5 separate regions of the Homo sapiens genome follow, and regions 1, 2, 3 and 4 are each linked to region 5. The links are contacts of gene promoters, found by promoter capture Hi-C in blood cells and fetal thymus (Javierre and others, 2016). All regions are on one chromosome and are shown on one strand. The core of a region is centred on a gene start or on the middle of the fragment in contact, and the rest is flanking DNA. Distances in the headings are between cores, read along the strand shown. Region 1 holds the start of IPO4 (importin 4). Region 2 holds the start of REC8 (REC8 meiotic recombination protein). Region 3 holds the start of DCAF11 (DDB1 and CUL4 associated factor 11). Region 4 holds the start of PSME2 (proteasome activator subunit 2). Region 5 holds the start of RBM23 (RNA binding motif protein 23).

Evidence for each region. The method cuts DNA at HindIII sites, captures the fragments that hold promoters and counts their contacts. A CHiCAGO score of 5 or more calls a contact.
Region 1: a contact is called between the fragment with the promoter of IPO4 here and the fragment with the promoter of RBM23 in region 5, in 8 of 17 cell types (non-activated CD4 T cells, monocytes, naive CD8 T cells and 5 more). The highest score is 13.5, in non-activated CD4 T cells.
Region 2: the fragment with the promoter of REC8 here is called in contact with the fragment with the promoter of RBM23 in region 5 in 2 of 17 cell types (monocytes and total B cells); the score reaches 11.7 in monocytes.
Region 3: the fragment with the promoter of DCAF11 here is called in contact with the fragment with the promoter of RBM23 in region 5 in 7 of 17 cell types (monocytes, total B cells, non-activated CD4 T cells and 4 more); the score reaches 14.8 in monocytes.
Region 4: the fragment with the promoter of PSME2 here is called in contact with the fragment with the promoter of RBM23 in region 5 in 1 of 17 cell types (monocytes); the score reaches 6.8 in monocytes.

The regions. Positions count from the first base shown.
Region 1 is chr14:24,187,441-24,190,140 of GRCh38, forward strand. It overlaps IPO4 (importin 4), which reads right to left and starts at 1,376. Exons shown (of 30, transcript NM_024658.4): 1 at 1,279-1,376; 2 at 1,112-1,198; 3 at 904-983; 4 at 776-817; 5 at 227-356; 6 at 1-139. The coding sequence starts at 1,347. It overlaps TM9SF1 (transmembrane 9 superfamily member 1), which reads right to left. Exons shown (of 6, transcript NM_006405.7): 6 at 1,709-2,368. The coding sequence ends at 1,975. RefSeq lists silencers at 372-582, 828-947. The HindIII fragment of the contact is 6,803 bases long and covers 168-2,700 here.
Region 2 is chr14:24,170,698-24,173,397 of GRCh38, forward strand. It overlaps REC8 (REC8 meiotic recombination protein), which reads left to right and starts at 1,383. Exons shown (of 19, transcript NM_001048205.2): 1 at 1,383-1,911; 2 at 2,016-2,084; 3 at 2,202-2,344; 4 at 2,429-2,501; 5 at 2,594-2,700. The coding sequence starts at 1,856. RefSeq lists enhancers at 795-1,295, 1,364-1,613 and a silencer at 1,144-1,193. The HindIII fragment of the contact is 5,740 bases long and covers 1-2,700 here.
Region 3 is chr14:24,113,505-24,116,204 of GRCh38, forward strand. It overlaps DCAF11 (DDB1 and CUL4 associated factor 11), which reads left to right and starts at 1,273. Exons shown (of 15, transcript NM_025230.5): 1 at 1,273-1,789; 2 at 1,878-2,245. The coding sequence starts at 2,091. NRL (neural retina leucine zipper) reads right to left here and starts at 1,445. Exons shown (of 3, transcript NM_001354768.3): 1 at 1,218-1,445. RefSeq lists enhancers at 526-1,241, 823-962, 1,203-1,352. The HindIII fragment of the contact is 1,852 bases long and covers 681-2,532 here.
Region 4 is chr14:24,145,162-24,147,861 of GRCh38, forward strand. PSME2 (proteasome activator subunit 2) reads right to left here and starts at 1,449. Exons shown (of 11, transcript NM_002818.3): 1 at 1,373-1,449; 2 at 1,047-1,079; 3 at 549-611; 4 at 218-304; 5 at 82-112. The coding sequence starts at 1,420. RNF31 (ring finger protein 31) reads left to right here and starts at 2,337. Exons shown (of 21, transcript NM_017999.5): 1 at 2,337-2,700. The coding sequence starts at 2,538. RefSeq lists silencers at 1,495-1,554, 2,255-2,344, 2,375-2,604 and enhancers at 1,865-1,934, 2,072-2,572, 2,119-2,413. The HindIII fragment of the contact is 5,988 bases long and covers 1,130-2,700 here.
Region 5 is chr14:22,917,858-22,920,557 of GRCh38, forward strand. It overlaps RBM23 (RNA binding motif protein 23), which reads right to left and starts at 1,292. Exons shown (of 14, transcript NM_001077351.2): 1 at 1,142-1,292. PRMT5-AS1 (PRMT5 antisense RNA 1) reads left to right here and starts at 1,599. Exons shown (of 2, transcript NR_120600.1): 1 at 1,599-2,700. PRMT5 (protein arginine methyltransferase 5) reads right to left here. Exons shown (of 17, transcript NM_006109.5): 17 at 2,672-2,700. RefSeq lists enhancers at 1-108, 597-766, 837-946, 1,037-1,106 and a silencer at 1,367-1,666. The HindIII fragment of the contact is 7,114 bases long and covers 1-1,720 here.

The DNA.
Region 1 (2,700 bases), core at 126-2,625, 1.3 Mb after region 5:
TGCGCAGGGAGTAGAAGAGCAGCCCAGGAGAGCCCACCTCACCAAGAGTCTCATTCAGAAGCCGAAGAAGCTCCCGGTGGTGGGGTTGGAAGGCCTCGGGCCGGGAGGTCACCACCACACTTAGCAGCAAAAGCCCCATCTGTCCAAGAATAGAGGATGGGAGAGCAAGCTTACAAGGTCTATCCAGCCTCTCAGGCCCTCCCTCCTGCCAACCATGTGATGGTACCTCTCTCTCTGGGCTGTGGGGGCTGTGGGTACTGTGCTGAAGCAGCTGCAAAAGCTGTGGCCAGGCCTCCAAGCCTTCCTTTCGAAAAATGGTGGCTGAGAGCTGGGCCAGGCTGAGGCTCACACAGTGCCTGCAAACAGGAGAGATCTCCTCCAATCACCCTTCAATACCTTCCTCTGCACACAGTGGCCAGGCTCAATGGGGCAGCCAGGACAGAAACTTTCAGGAGGTGTGGGCACAGGGTCTTTGCCAAGTTGGGACACATGAGACAGCAGCTCAGAGGGAGCCCAACAGCACTGTGGGCATGTAATCTGGTAAGTTCAGTCTAACTTAGCCTGAATTTCAGTCTTATTCTTCTGACTTGGGTTTGGCAGATCATCATCACCCTTCCTCAAGAACTTTAGTCTTCAAAACAGCCTTAAAATCCTCACTCCACCTTGCGTCTAGAACTGAAGTCCCTGCCCCACAAGTCCCAGCCTGGAGCCGAAAAGGAAGGCAGAAACCTAGACAAAGTCGTCAAGATCCCGAGAGAAGTGGGTAGGTACTTACTCTGTTTCTCTCTGCAGGGCCGTCAGGATCAGGGACTTGAGGCTGGAACACAGGTGGCAGGTGTTTGGTACCCAGCCTGCCCAAGAAAAGTCTCCGCCTGGCCCCGCCCCACCCCAGGCCCAGCCCACCTCTCCCGTTGCTCCGCCGCCAGCCGTCGCCAGCGGGTGTTCAGTCGTCTGCGGGTCAGCACGGCCGCAAACTGGCGGATCTAGGACGAGGAAGCAAGCACGTGGGGGTCCGGGCAGGAAGGTGCTGAGCGGACCGCAGTGGGCGAATACTGGGGCTTGACCGGTGGCGTACAGTGGGAAGCTCGGAGGGGAGAGTCAGGGGTCTCACCTGGGGGTCGGCCGCCGAGGCTAGCAGGTCGCAGAGAGCCGGCAAAGCGGCGGGGGCCCGAAGAACGATCTGGAGCTGTTCCGTGGCCTGGGGGGAAGCTAGGGGTGAGAGTTGGGCCTTTCCCGCAACCTCCCGCTCGCCCTGGCCCGGTTACGCCTGCTCCGTACCCGACGGATGCGCTCGGTGTCCGGTAGCAGCAGCTCCCGTAGGAGCTGCTCTAGCCCGGCTGACTCCATGGCAGCAACTGAGCCGCCGCTACTGGGCCGAAAAGGGGAGGGGGAGGGACAGCACGTGGAGGTTCTGACACCCACTTCCGGAGGAAAGGGCGTTGCTGCACGCCCCGCGGGTTGCCAAGGTGATTCAATTCGCTTCCCACAAAGAGGTCCGGCTCCTCCACTTCCGTTAGGCTGAGCACCGGCTGAATCGCGGAAACCCGACTCTGGCAATGTAGGTTCCCCACGCCGGGAGTTCCCAAGCTGGGTTGGAGAACTCGAGCTTCGGGCATTCAGTGGCCAGCTCGGCTTTATAAAGGACCGTGCCCTTAACAGCAGGGCTCGAGTTCCTATATCCAGACCAAAACCTCCAACTGCATGAGCCTTTTTCTTAATAAATTTTATTTTGGTAATTGTAAAAAGAAAAATCAGGACCAAAACTAAAGGCAACTTAAAAAGTTCAAATATATAATCCTTATGTGATAGAGATTTATAATTTCCAGGCCCTCTCTGGGGAAGGAATGCCCAAAGGGCAAAAGGGAAGGCAACAATGCCATCACACAATTCAGTCAATCAGAAGAGAAGCTGGTAGGAGAGTTCAACAGGGCATGAAGAAAGGGAGAGAACAGCAATAGTTCTGCCATACAGAACTCAGTCCATCTTGAGGTTAACATAGATATACCGGATGAACTTTAGGGAAGAAAAAAAGGAGATGGTGCCCAGCATGAGGAAGAAGACATAACCAGTGAGTAAGGAGTAGCCGAAGAACTCTACTGTCTGTACTGCCCCAGACATGTTGGAGCGCCGGGCATAATAGAAAACTGAGTAGAGGAAGATGAAGAGGCCGGTGGAGCCAACACTCAGCACAGATCGCCACCACCAGCGGTAATCCTCCCCAGACAACTGGAAGTAGGTGAGTGCAATGGAGATGCAAGCCCCCACACTCAGCAGGATGGCGAAGACAAAGAAGAGGATGCCGTACAAAGTGTACTGCTCCCGACCCCATACTGTGGCAAAGATGTAGTACAGCTCCACAGAGATGGCACTGTGAAGAAAAGAGATGATACACAGCATTAAAGGGCTGTGCACCATCAGCACAGTGGCTGGGCTGAAATCCAGCCCCCACCCTCTCCCATGTTGCTGGGTCATTGTGAAAAGTGAGTTCACTCCACTCTCTGCCCCAGATCTCCTGGCTTCATGGGGATTTTTTGCCTATGATTAGCCGCTCTCACTTCAAGAATATCTTCCCTAATAGATTGAGGGCAGGGATCTTGTCCATTTTATTCCACTTTATTCTTTGCCTGGCACAAAGAGGTATTCAACAAAGTAAATGGGTCATCAAATGGGCTTTAAACCCCACATGATGTCCATAGGCAT
Region 2 (2,700 bases), core at 133-2,632, 1.3 Mb after region 5:
CGGATCACCTGAGGTCAGGAGTTCGAGACCAGCCTGGCCAACATGGTGAAACCCCTGTCTCTACTAAAAAATACAAAATTTAGCCAGGTGTGGTGGTGGGCGCCTGTAATCCCAGCTACTCGGGAGCCTGAGGCAGGAGAATCCCCTGCACCGGGGAGGCGGAGGCTGCAATGAGCTGAGACTGCGCCACTGCACTCCAGCCTGGGTGACAGAGTGAAACTCCATCTCAAAAAAAAAAGAAACCAGCCTGGCCAACATAGTGAAATCCCGTCTCTTCTAAAAATGCAAAAATTAGTTGGGTGTGATGGAGGGCGCCTGTAATCCCAGCTACTCAGGAGGCCAAGACACGAGAATCGCTTGAACCTGAGGGGATGGGGGGCAGAGGATGCAGTGAGCCGAGATTGCCGAGATAGCGCCACTGCATTCCAGCCTGGGCAACAGTGAGAGCCTCCATCTCAAAAAAAAAAAAAAAAAATGGACTTCTTCCTCATTGACCTGTGGTGGCTCCAAGGCCATCAAAAAAAAAAAAAATGGACTTCTTCCTCATTGACCTGTGGTGGCTCCAAGGCCATCATCTCACAGCCTTTTTTTTTTTTTTTTTTTTTGAGACGGAGTCTTGCTCCCTTGCCCAGGTTGGAGTGGAGCTGCATGATCTCGGCTCACTGCAACCTCCGCCTCCCAGGTTCAAGCATTCTCCTGCCTCAGCCTCCTGAGTAGCTGGGATTACAGGCGCGTGCCACCACGCCCAGCTAACTTTTGCATTTTTAATAGAGACGGGGTTTCACCATATTGGTCAGGCTGGACTCGAACTCCTAACCTCATGATCCGCCCGCCTCGGCCTCCCAAAGTGCTAGGATTACAGGCGTGAGCCACTGCGCCCGGCCTCATCTCACATCTTTCTTCCTCTGCAGCACACGACACGCCCTAGTTGGAAACAAAGTCGGAGTTTGTGGATTGGGGGAAGGGCGGGGTCTAACCTCAGGTCAGGCGCCGTGCAAGGTACATCTTGGCACCCGGAAGAGGCCCAGTACAGTTGCCCCCGAGGTGACCCGACCTCCCCTACCAATTGAGGCGCCCTTGTTGCCAGGCTTGCGGCGGGGGAGCGGCGGGGGAGCGACGGGGATGCGCTCATTGGTCAAGGAAGGGGCGCCTGTTACTAGAGGCGAGAACCGGAGCCCATTGGTCGGAACACCTCACAATGGACCCCAGCGGCGCGCAAAATCCTTATGATTGGTTTGCTGGCTGCCTCGGGAGACCCTGTTGCCAGGATACTTGGCGTTCCCGACCCGACCCCCGTTCCCCATTGGCTGTCAGGGCAAAAGCCGCCATCTAATGAGGAGCGAGGTGCGGTGCCCCGAAGCGCTCGCTTCCCGCGGTGCGATCTAGTCCTGCAGTAGGCGGCCCGGGGCCACACCGCGGCCGCCCAAGCCAGTGCAAGGCCCAGGGGCCTGACATCGCTCCCAGCGCTCGAGGACCGAGGCCTGCTGTGGAGGACACCGTGCTCCCTCGGGACCTGCTCTGGATTCCGGCCCGGACGTCCCCTTGGAGCTCTGCATCTCCAACCTGGAACCCAACCCAGAAGTCTCAAGTTTGACGCATCACGTGGCGTGCGGATCCACTGAGGGTCCACAGAGAGGGGCGCCCATCTCCTGCGTCTCAGTTATCCTGGTAATTGTGTATCTGCCCATTGTTCGTTGCCTCATTAACTTGGCTTTCTAGGTGCACCCACCTTGCCACCAGAGAAGTCCAAATCCTGACTTCTCTCCAAGGTGTTGGGAATTCTGTGCCCTAAAGAATTCCGACTCAGATCCGAACGGGGATCTGGTGGAATCGAGGGTGAAAGACCAGAGGGACAATGTTCTACTATCCCAACGTGCTTCAGCGCCACACCGGCTGCTTTGCCACCATCTGGTAAGGGCGGGGCCCGTTGGCGCGCGATGGCGGACGCTGCCCGGGATCCCAGCCTGACAGCTCCCCCTCCATCCCCATTCTCCCACCTTCCCCACCCACTTCAGGCTGGCGGCGACTCGCGGCAGCCGGTTGGTGAAGCGCGAATACCTGAGGGTGAATGTGGTGAAAACCTGGTAAGGCCCAGAAAAGGGAAGGAGGGCCTGGTGCGGGGGGTGAGTTAGGGGATGGGGTGGCCAAGACTGTGGGCCCACTCCTGGACGCAGCGGTAATCAGGGCGCATTGTTCCCCAGCGAGGAAATCCTCAATTACGTGCTGGTACGAGTGCAACCCCCGCAGCCCGGCCTGCCGCGGCCCCGCTTCTCCCTCTATCTCTCAGCCCAACTTCAGATCGGTGTGATCCGCGTCTATTCTCAACAATGCCAGTACCTCGTGGGTAAGGCTGGGAACCCTCAAAGGTGGGGCGGGCTGAGCAGCTGTCTGCTAAGCTGGCTGTCTACCTCGTCCTCCCTGCCCACAGAGGACATCCAGCACATCTTGGAGCGCCTCCACCGTGCCCAGCTGCAGATCCGAATAGATATGGAGACTGAGCTGTGAGTGTGCCCTGGGCCTTTGATGGAACACCTGCTAGCTTGGCCTCAGCCTGGCTCAGCCTCAGTCCTTCACGGCCTACATTCTCTCCCAGACCCAGCCTGCTGCTTCCTAACCACCTGGCCATGATGGAGACCCTAGAAGATGCTCCAGATCCCTTTTTTGGGATGATGTCTGTGGATCCCAGACTTCCTAGTCCTT
Region 3 (2,700 bases), core at 23-2,522, 1.2 Mb after region 5:
AAAGCACAGATAGTAAGTAATCTGGCAATAGAGGATGGGCGCCCAGCAGACCGCCTACATAATCAGTGGAGCCGAGTGCAAGATGAAAATACCAGGCACTTGCTTTAAAATTACTAATAATTTCAAGACCGTTAACACTAGAACATTAAACCAAACATTCAGGACCCTTCTAAGCGCAGAGGCCATCAAAGCTAGCCCTGGTGACAAGCTCAGGTCTCCGGATCTAGAGACTAGGAGACGTCGCCCGAAAGCTGGCCAAACCCTCGCCCTCACTGGGAGAGGCCCCAGGAGGGCCCAAGAAGGCCACGAGCCCTCGCTCCCATCCCTGCCCTCAGGAGCGGGCGGAGGGAAGCTCGCAGCTTTCCCAAGGAAGTGCAGGCTGCAGGGAATGAAGTTCAGCTCGGACCCTGAGCCTCTGAGCCCGAGACAGCAAGGTCATTCAACCCACACGTCCCCACCCAGCCAGGGCGAGGATCAGAGATGTGGCAACTCCCGGCCTTGGACTCAGGCTTGTTACTCATAAACCCGCAGGAGGGGGCAGGAGGGGGCAGGAGGCGGCGAGCGCGCACCCTGGACCCGCGGCCGGGGGCGGAGAGGCACCGCGAGGACAGAGGGACTAGCGAAGGTCTGCAAATCCCGGAGGGCCAAGGGAGCGTCAAAGGGGACAGCGGAACCGGAAAAGCTTTGACAGAAAGACGCGTGTATTAGGGAACGTCTGCAAAGACCGCGGCGGAAAGCCAGGGATTGTCTTAAAAAATTGTCAGACCGGATAAAGGGAGGTCTAAAAGGGGACCGTCCCAAGAGCAAGGCTTCCAAAAGCTAAGCCCGGAAGGACGGTATGGAGGTCTACTGGGACGCTGGGCACCCCTTAGGGCAGAACCGACTGGAGCTGCGGCCAGCGACAGAAGAACGGCTCCAGCTGGACAGGGGAAGCAGTGGGGAGAAAGGAGGCCCTTGGGCACTGTCTGAAAAGTGCGATGCCAAATGATCTTTAGGGACAGACAGTAAATTATATCCCTTGCTAAAATACCTCTCGGTAGCGAACCACCAAACGTTTCTTTTTTAAGCCCCGCCTCTCAGCCGTTACGCCTAGTTCGGCTGTCTCTGATTCAGGAAGCTGGCAGTTCCCACTTACTCCTCCCCAGCAAGAGCTAACAGCCCTCCTTGGGTGTGCACTTTCTCCTCCCCTCAGGCACCTCGCGCATTCTCCCGCCTACCTATCAATCATCGTGCTCCGCTGTCCAGTTGGCTGGCCAAGGGGGCGGGGCCGTCGTGTGACGTTTGCAGCCCGCCGGCCAGGAAGCCGCGAGATGCGTGACGAGCGAAGCGCGTGACGGAGGAGCGGTTGGCCAACGCAGTGGCGGCAGTCGGTGTAAACAAGGCCTCGCGCCGCTGCGGGTCCTGCGACCGCTCCTGGCTGGTGGGTGGTCTCGCGTGGGGCGGTTACCGCCGGCTTCAGTGGGAGGTGCTTCTCGGCTTCCTCCCCCTCATGGCGTACACACCCCCGGCGCACCACGTGGGCGTGAGGCGAGGAAGGAGGGGTGTTAGGCCAAATTCTATTTTCATTGGCTGTCACTGCTGCCGGCCTTTGTAAGGGGGCGCTCTGATTGGTCGATAAGGTGGGGGCGTCGAGGGTCTTTGAGTCCTAAGGCTTCTAATTGGTTAGATGAGATAAGCTAGTGAAGCGCTTTCTTCCGAGAGGGATTTCGATTGGTCGGTCAGAGAGGTTACCTGGAAATCCAACACCGCCCAACACCCCTCCCGCTCCCCAGTCCGGGGACTTCGATAGGTGAGTTTGGTGTAGAAAACAAATCTTTCTTCAGTTGGTGAGCTAGGGTAGCGCACTACGGTTCACTCTTGCTTTCTTTGCTTCACAGGATTGGAGAAGGTTTGTGTTCCCGACGCCTTGGTAGTTGGCATAGGCTAAAGAAAAGGGATCTCAGCCCCGAGGAAGGGTCACCCTCCTAGAGATAGCTACTACCCCGTCTCAGGAGACCCTGGTATTTCTAGAGCACGCTTTGCTTTCACCAAACCCAAGGAGGTGACAGGAGGAGCCCCCGCACAGGACCTAAGAATGCTGTGACCAGAAGATGGGATCGCGGAACAGCAGCAGTGCAGGATCCGGGTCCGGAGACCCCTCCGAGGGCTTGCCCCGAAGAGGGGCTGGCCTGCGTCGGAGTGAGGAAGAGGAAGAAGAGGATGAAGATGTGGATCTGGCCCAGGTACTGGCCTATCTCCTCCGCAGGTAACTTACCCTCTGGTGTGACCCCCAGCAGGTGCTACCACAGTGCCTTGATCCCAACTCCAGGCAGGAAAATTACAGAGGTTAGGAAATGGGATTCGCTCAGGACAGCTGTTCTGTTTGAGCTGAACAGCCTTTCCCTGCTGGGCACCCATGGCACTCAGCTCCATACCCAGTAAGAGTGGTTCTTACCTAGGGAGGGTCACCAAGAGGACCTGCTCATGTGTTTGAGGGGCTATTCAAGGGAGCCTGTCTCTGTGACTACACAAATATAGTCTATTTTCCAAGTAAGCTTGAAAAAAAAAAGGGGGGGGTCCTAGTGGGAAAGGAGTGATGTAAGGGGTGAAGAGATGGGAAGGGAGTGTTGAACTTTTTAGTAAGGCAGTTGACACATGATATGAGGCCACTTCGATTTACTTGAAAAACAAGTTTAATTTGCCCTGACTCTAACCTGTTCT
Region 4 (2,700 bases), core at 199-2,698, 1.2 Mb after region 5:
GAAAGAGGGGATTCAGGCCCTTTCTCATCCAGTAGTCAGTGTGCCATCACCCCTTCCCTAGTCACCTCTTATCTCTCTTACCTTCTTTCTTCTCCTGCTTATCTGTTTCCATCTAAGGCAAAAAGGGGGGAAAGTAGCTTTAGAAAAGTCACAGAGGTTGAAGGGCTATCTTCTCCATTGGGTTTATAGTCCAAGTCCTGCACCCTGAGTGCCTCACCTCATCATCCTTGGGTGGAGGGTCTGGGATGGGGATGTCCAGTGGGGCCCGGAGGGAAGTCAAGTCAGCCACATTGAGGGAGTCCTCCTGCACAGAGCTCACTGTCAAGGGCTGCCCAACCTCTTCCCTTCATCCTAGGTCACAGCCTTCCCTCCATACATCCCACTTGCACTCTGCCTCCCAACCTAGGCTCATGCCTCACGCCATCCTAATGTTCCTAATCCACTATTTGAAACTATTCTCTGCATGCTGAATCCAGTTGTTAGCTAGAGAGGGTGGGCAAAGGGGATAGAGGACATAGGATGGGGCAGAAGGGGCCCACACTACTCACTTGCAAGAGCTGATTCAGGTATATGATTTTCTGTGGCAAGAATCTGTAGAGGAATTCCTCAGCCTGTGGGTTACATTGCAAGGGAGGGGAATCACAGAATATGCTCAATGAGATGTCTGACAAATGGAACTGGAAGGGCCTTTGGAAATCACTGGGTCCAAGACTTGCAAATGAGGAAACTGAAGACCTGAAAATGAAAGGACTTGCCCAAGCTGGTAAATGGCAGAACGAAGGTTAGGACTGTGATATTCCTGCTTTGGAAGCCATGGTTTTTTTCCTCCACATCAAAAGACGGGAGAAGTGCCAGAAGTCGGGAGAGTCATAAGAAAGGTCAGATTAAAGGTAGCTATCAATAATTCCGGGGTTACTTTGGGTGAAGGCTTGGTAAGGGAAGTAGGGTTAAGTCTAGGGTGACTTGGGGGGGTCATTCTGAGAGGCTGTTATCCTCAAGTATTGGTCCAAGATTCTGGGTCAAATCGCTCAAATCCAGAGACTTACCTCCTGGAAAAGATTCTGTCTGAAGACCTCCACCTACACAGAGAGCAGTACCCGGATGTTGGTTAAGGGTCTGGGTTGTCAAAAGCTTCCACCCACAACAGGGTGCCCTCGAACTGTGGCTCAGGCCTTTCTCACCACAAACTAGCTTTCCCTGGAAGCTCCTGCTCACTGCAGTCAGAAGGCAGGAATCTGGGAATCCCCGAGAAGTGAAGGCACTAGCGAGATTGGGGGAGTTCTCTGGCACTGCTTGGTCCCCTGAACCACCCAGCTTGGCCTCCACCCAAGAGGGTTCTATGACCCCTTCCTGGCCTCCGATTCCCCATTACCTGTTTGCGGGCTTCCCCGCTCAGGCGCACCCCACACGGCTTGGCCATGCTGCTTCAGTCGCTAGATCTCTGGTCTCCCGGCTAGTCGCCCGGGCTTTCGCTTTCACTCCCCAGGTCCAGGCCCGCCCCCCTCAACCCCGCCCCCTTTCTTCTTTCCGCCCCCCTCCTCCCGCTGGCAGGCCGCAAGCAGTAGGTAGCCCCTCAGCCATTCCCAGCCAGTTGCCACTAGGAGAGGCGGTGCTGGCTGGGTCACAGTCCAGGGGCTGCCCGAGGGAGGGGCTAGGGTAAGTGGGACCGCGGAGACTGGAGCGGGGGCTGTCCCTCGGAGAGGGGCGGGGCTTATAGCTAGGGCCAACTGGAAGTCCAGGGTTGGGGTAAGAGAGGTGGGAGTATGGCAAAGGGGGTATTCAGTGGCGGGGCTCCCCCAAGAAGGCTCGACCGCAAGTAGCGGACGGAGAGAGATCAGAGCGAGTGGGAGGGGCAGCCAGAGGGAGCGCCTGGGGTGGAGAAGGACTAGCAGCTCTTAGAAGAGAGCGGGCAGGGGTTGGGTGAGGGTCTTCCCTCTGCCTTCAGGACAGACCGGAGATGGGGCGGGACTCGCTCGAGAGGGGTTAGGGCCGGCCAGAGTCGGTTCCCCTGCAGGGTGGGACTTCCTCGGTGAGGCCCGGAGCGTACCGGACTGGTCCAGCTAGAAAAAGAAAGGTTTTGAGCTGAATAGGATAACCCCGCGCCTGCGGCTATCCGGAAGGGGTGGAACCAGATTGGGGGAAGGCGGGGAAGAGCGCTTGACTGAGGGAAGATGCTGGCGCGCTCTGAGGGAGGAGCCAGGAGCCATTTGCCTTCTCATTGGTTGGGACCTGGCCCTCCCTCTTGGCCGCGCCCCCTGGTTTCCTGACACCGCTCCAACCTTAACCTTAAGCCCCGCCCGTTCCTCCGAAATTGGGTCGCAGTCCCACCCTCTCTCCTAGTACTTCCTGTTCTCGGCTAACCCTGGCGCTGGGCCGGGGGCTGGAGAGTGACCGTGGTCTGAGTGACCTGGGGCGGCTGCGTGGGCCGGGGTGGGCCTCAAAGCCGGGCACCAGACGGGAGGGGCGGCGCTCGGGCCGCGCGCTGCCCGCGCCGGGTCCTGGCGGGCGGCGAGGCTGGGGCTGACTCCTGCCTCAGGATGCCGGGGGAGGAAGAGGAGCGGGCCTTCCTGGTGGCCCGCGAGGAGCTGGCGAGCGCCCTGAGGAGGGATTCCGGGCAGGCGTTTTCCCTGGAGCAGCTCCGGCCGCTACTAGCCAGCTCTCTGCCGCTAGCCGCCCGCTACCTGCAGCTGGACGCCGCAC
Region 5 (2,700 bases), core at 42-2,541:
ATAGCACAAGCCAACAGATAGACCCCACTGCTAAAGGAGCAGAGAGAACCACTGTCAGACCAATTCGGGAAGAATTCACGAAAAGCTGGAGCCCCAGGGGTGATGGTAGCGCCATCCCCAGGGTCTGATCACTTAGCTGGGCACAAACACCTACAAACTGAAGGCAGCTTAACAAAAGAGGAACAATGAGAACGATAAAAGCTACTTGAAGGACCACCCTCCCCATGTTGTGTAGCTTTAAAAAATGGTCCTATAGGCCGGGCGCGGTGGCTCACGCCTGTAATCCCAGCACTTTGGGAGGCCGAGGCGGGTGGATCACCTGAGGTCAGGAGTTCGAGGTCAGCCTGGCTAACATGGCAAAACCCCATCTCTATTAAAAATACAAAAATTAGCCGGGCGTTGTGGCAGGCGCCTGTAATCCCAGCTACTCGGGAGGCTGAGGCAGGGGAATCGCTAGAACCCGGGAGACAGGATGCAGTGAGCCGAGATCGCGCCACTCCACTCCAGCCTGGGTGACAAAGCGACACTCCGCCTTAAAAAAATAAAAAAAAAGAGGTCCTATAGGCAACCAACTGGCACAATCTCTGCGGGAGCCAGTGTCCCAGGGCTCAATCTTCATATGTGGCATCATAATACGCCTACTGGAATGAGTGCTTGAAAAAGTTAAATGGGAAAAGCCCATAAAGGTCAACATAGTGAACATGAATCTTCGACAGACTAGAGATTGAGGAAGAAAGCTCAATTCCCTTCTCTCTCTCTGAATGGTGGTGCGAGTGGCTGAAACTGATGATGCGTGTCCTCTCAGGCCGCGGAGGGTCGATGCTCCCTCTCCAGTGTGGGCGACCCTAAGTGTCACGGCTGCAGAGACCCGGAAAGAAAAATCACAGGATTCTAGAAACCGCATCTTTATCGGTGCAAGATACAGCCACGAGGGTGCCCAACTCTAAAATCGTGGCAGTGGGCTACATTTAAGTAGCTAACACTTCCAGGTCAAAACAAACAAAGGTTTTTTTAATGTTAAAAGTTCGCCTGAATCTCTTCGTGACGCCATTTTCTGCCCGTGACGTCAGGGGGGAGGCGCCGTGCAGCAACGTCACGCATTGGTGACGTCTGGTGGGGACCGGGTTTTGGGGTTTCTCACCAGTTCCGGGTCCCCGCAGGGGGGTCCCGGTTCTCTCCGTTCCTTTGAGTATGTTGTGGGGAGTGGAGCTCGGATAGTTCCTAGAGTCTAGGCAAGAAAAGCAGCACTGCAGGTACAGAGCCTCCTCTTCCCGCAAAATGGCGGCAGCTCTGCCGTCTTCCAGAACCTTCCCCAATCTGCGCATGCGCCAAGACTCCCCGGCTTTGGAAATAACCTCACTGGTTTCGCGGCAACCGTCCAAAGTACAGGTTCTCATTGGCTAAAGTCCTAAGTATGGGTGGAGCAAACTCAAATGCGTCTTAGCAACCACCGAGTTCCCATTGATTGGCTAACCTCAGAGACTCCAGAAAATGGAAGCGTCCTTTGGTAGCCGCCCATCACTCTCTCATTGGTTAAATGACTTGCGGAGGGCGGGGAAAACGGGACTGAAAACGGGAGTGAAGAAGCCACCAACCCCACTCCTGGTGCTCGCGTAGACTAGACCAGTGCGATGGGCGGAGCCAACGAGGAGGCACAATTTACATCCTTGGCCGTCCCTACTCGGATTTGCTGAAGGAGTCACGTCGGTCGTTAAGGTTAAGCTTTGTAGAGAACAGCGGCGTTTGTTTAACGTCCGGGGATGCTGAACTCGAAATCCCCGTTCTGAGCCGGCTACCTAAACAACCTTCCCGACCACCTCTCCTGACCTCGGTGCTTGGGACCAGGGAAAAGCAGATCTTGCCACAGACTTGTCTTGGCCCACACTCTGCCCTATCGTCATGGCCTGCTCCCACAGGTCATAACTTCCGTTCAAATCAGTACCCCCACATTTCCCACTGCAAGGGTAAATTTGAAAGTTTCTCAGGTGACTCCTTGGATGTAGCAGTACTGAGTCCTCTAACCGGAAAGAAGGAACTGATGTCCACCCTCACTTTCCAGGGGCCTCCAGGAGCCCCTAGACACTTCTGTGGTCTACTGTAGCTACCAAAAATGTAGCTGGTTATAACATGGGGAGAGCCAGAGTCGGAGGACCTGACTTCCAATTCTGACTTGGATACTAATATCACATCATTGTACCCATTTCAAACTCCCCCTCTGTAAAATGGAAAATTGGACTAGATGATCTCTTAGGACTTCAAACTGTAACCCTGTGGTTTTATTCAAAAAAAACAGGTAGCTTCTTGCTGGAGATTCCTGGATGGATTCCAGTCTTCCCAAGAGGTAACAAAGGAGAGGTAACCAGTTGCCCGTGCAGTAGCTCAAGAATACAGAAGAGAAACTGGCTTCACTCACTATTCCATCTTTTTCCAAGGTGGCAAACTCTATGCCTCCTCCCCAGAGAAAAGCCTAACTGTAGGTTCTAATGGACAAGAGCTCACTGTAGCTGGTCAGAAAGGCCTATATCCAGGACTACAATAGTCATTGCTCAGCTTCCTAAGTAGGGAATACAACTAGGCCCCTTTGGGTCTTGGATAGGCTAAGAGGACAGATCTGAACATGCCTGGGTCTAAGTGAGGTGTGGGAAAATAGTGGCAGGGGGCAGCATGGTCGTGCAGTAAAGGGCTATAACTTTATTTGTA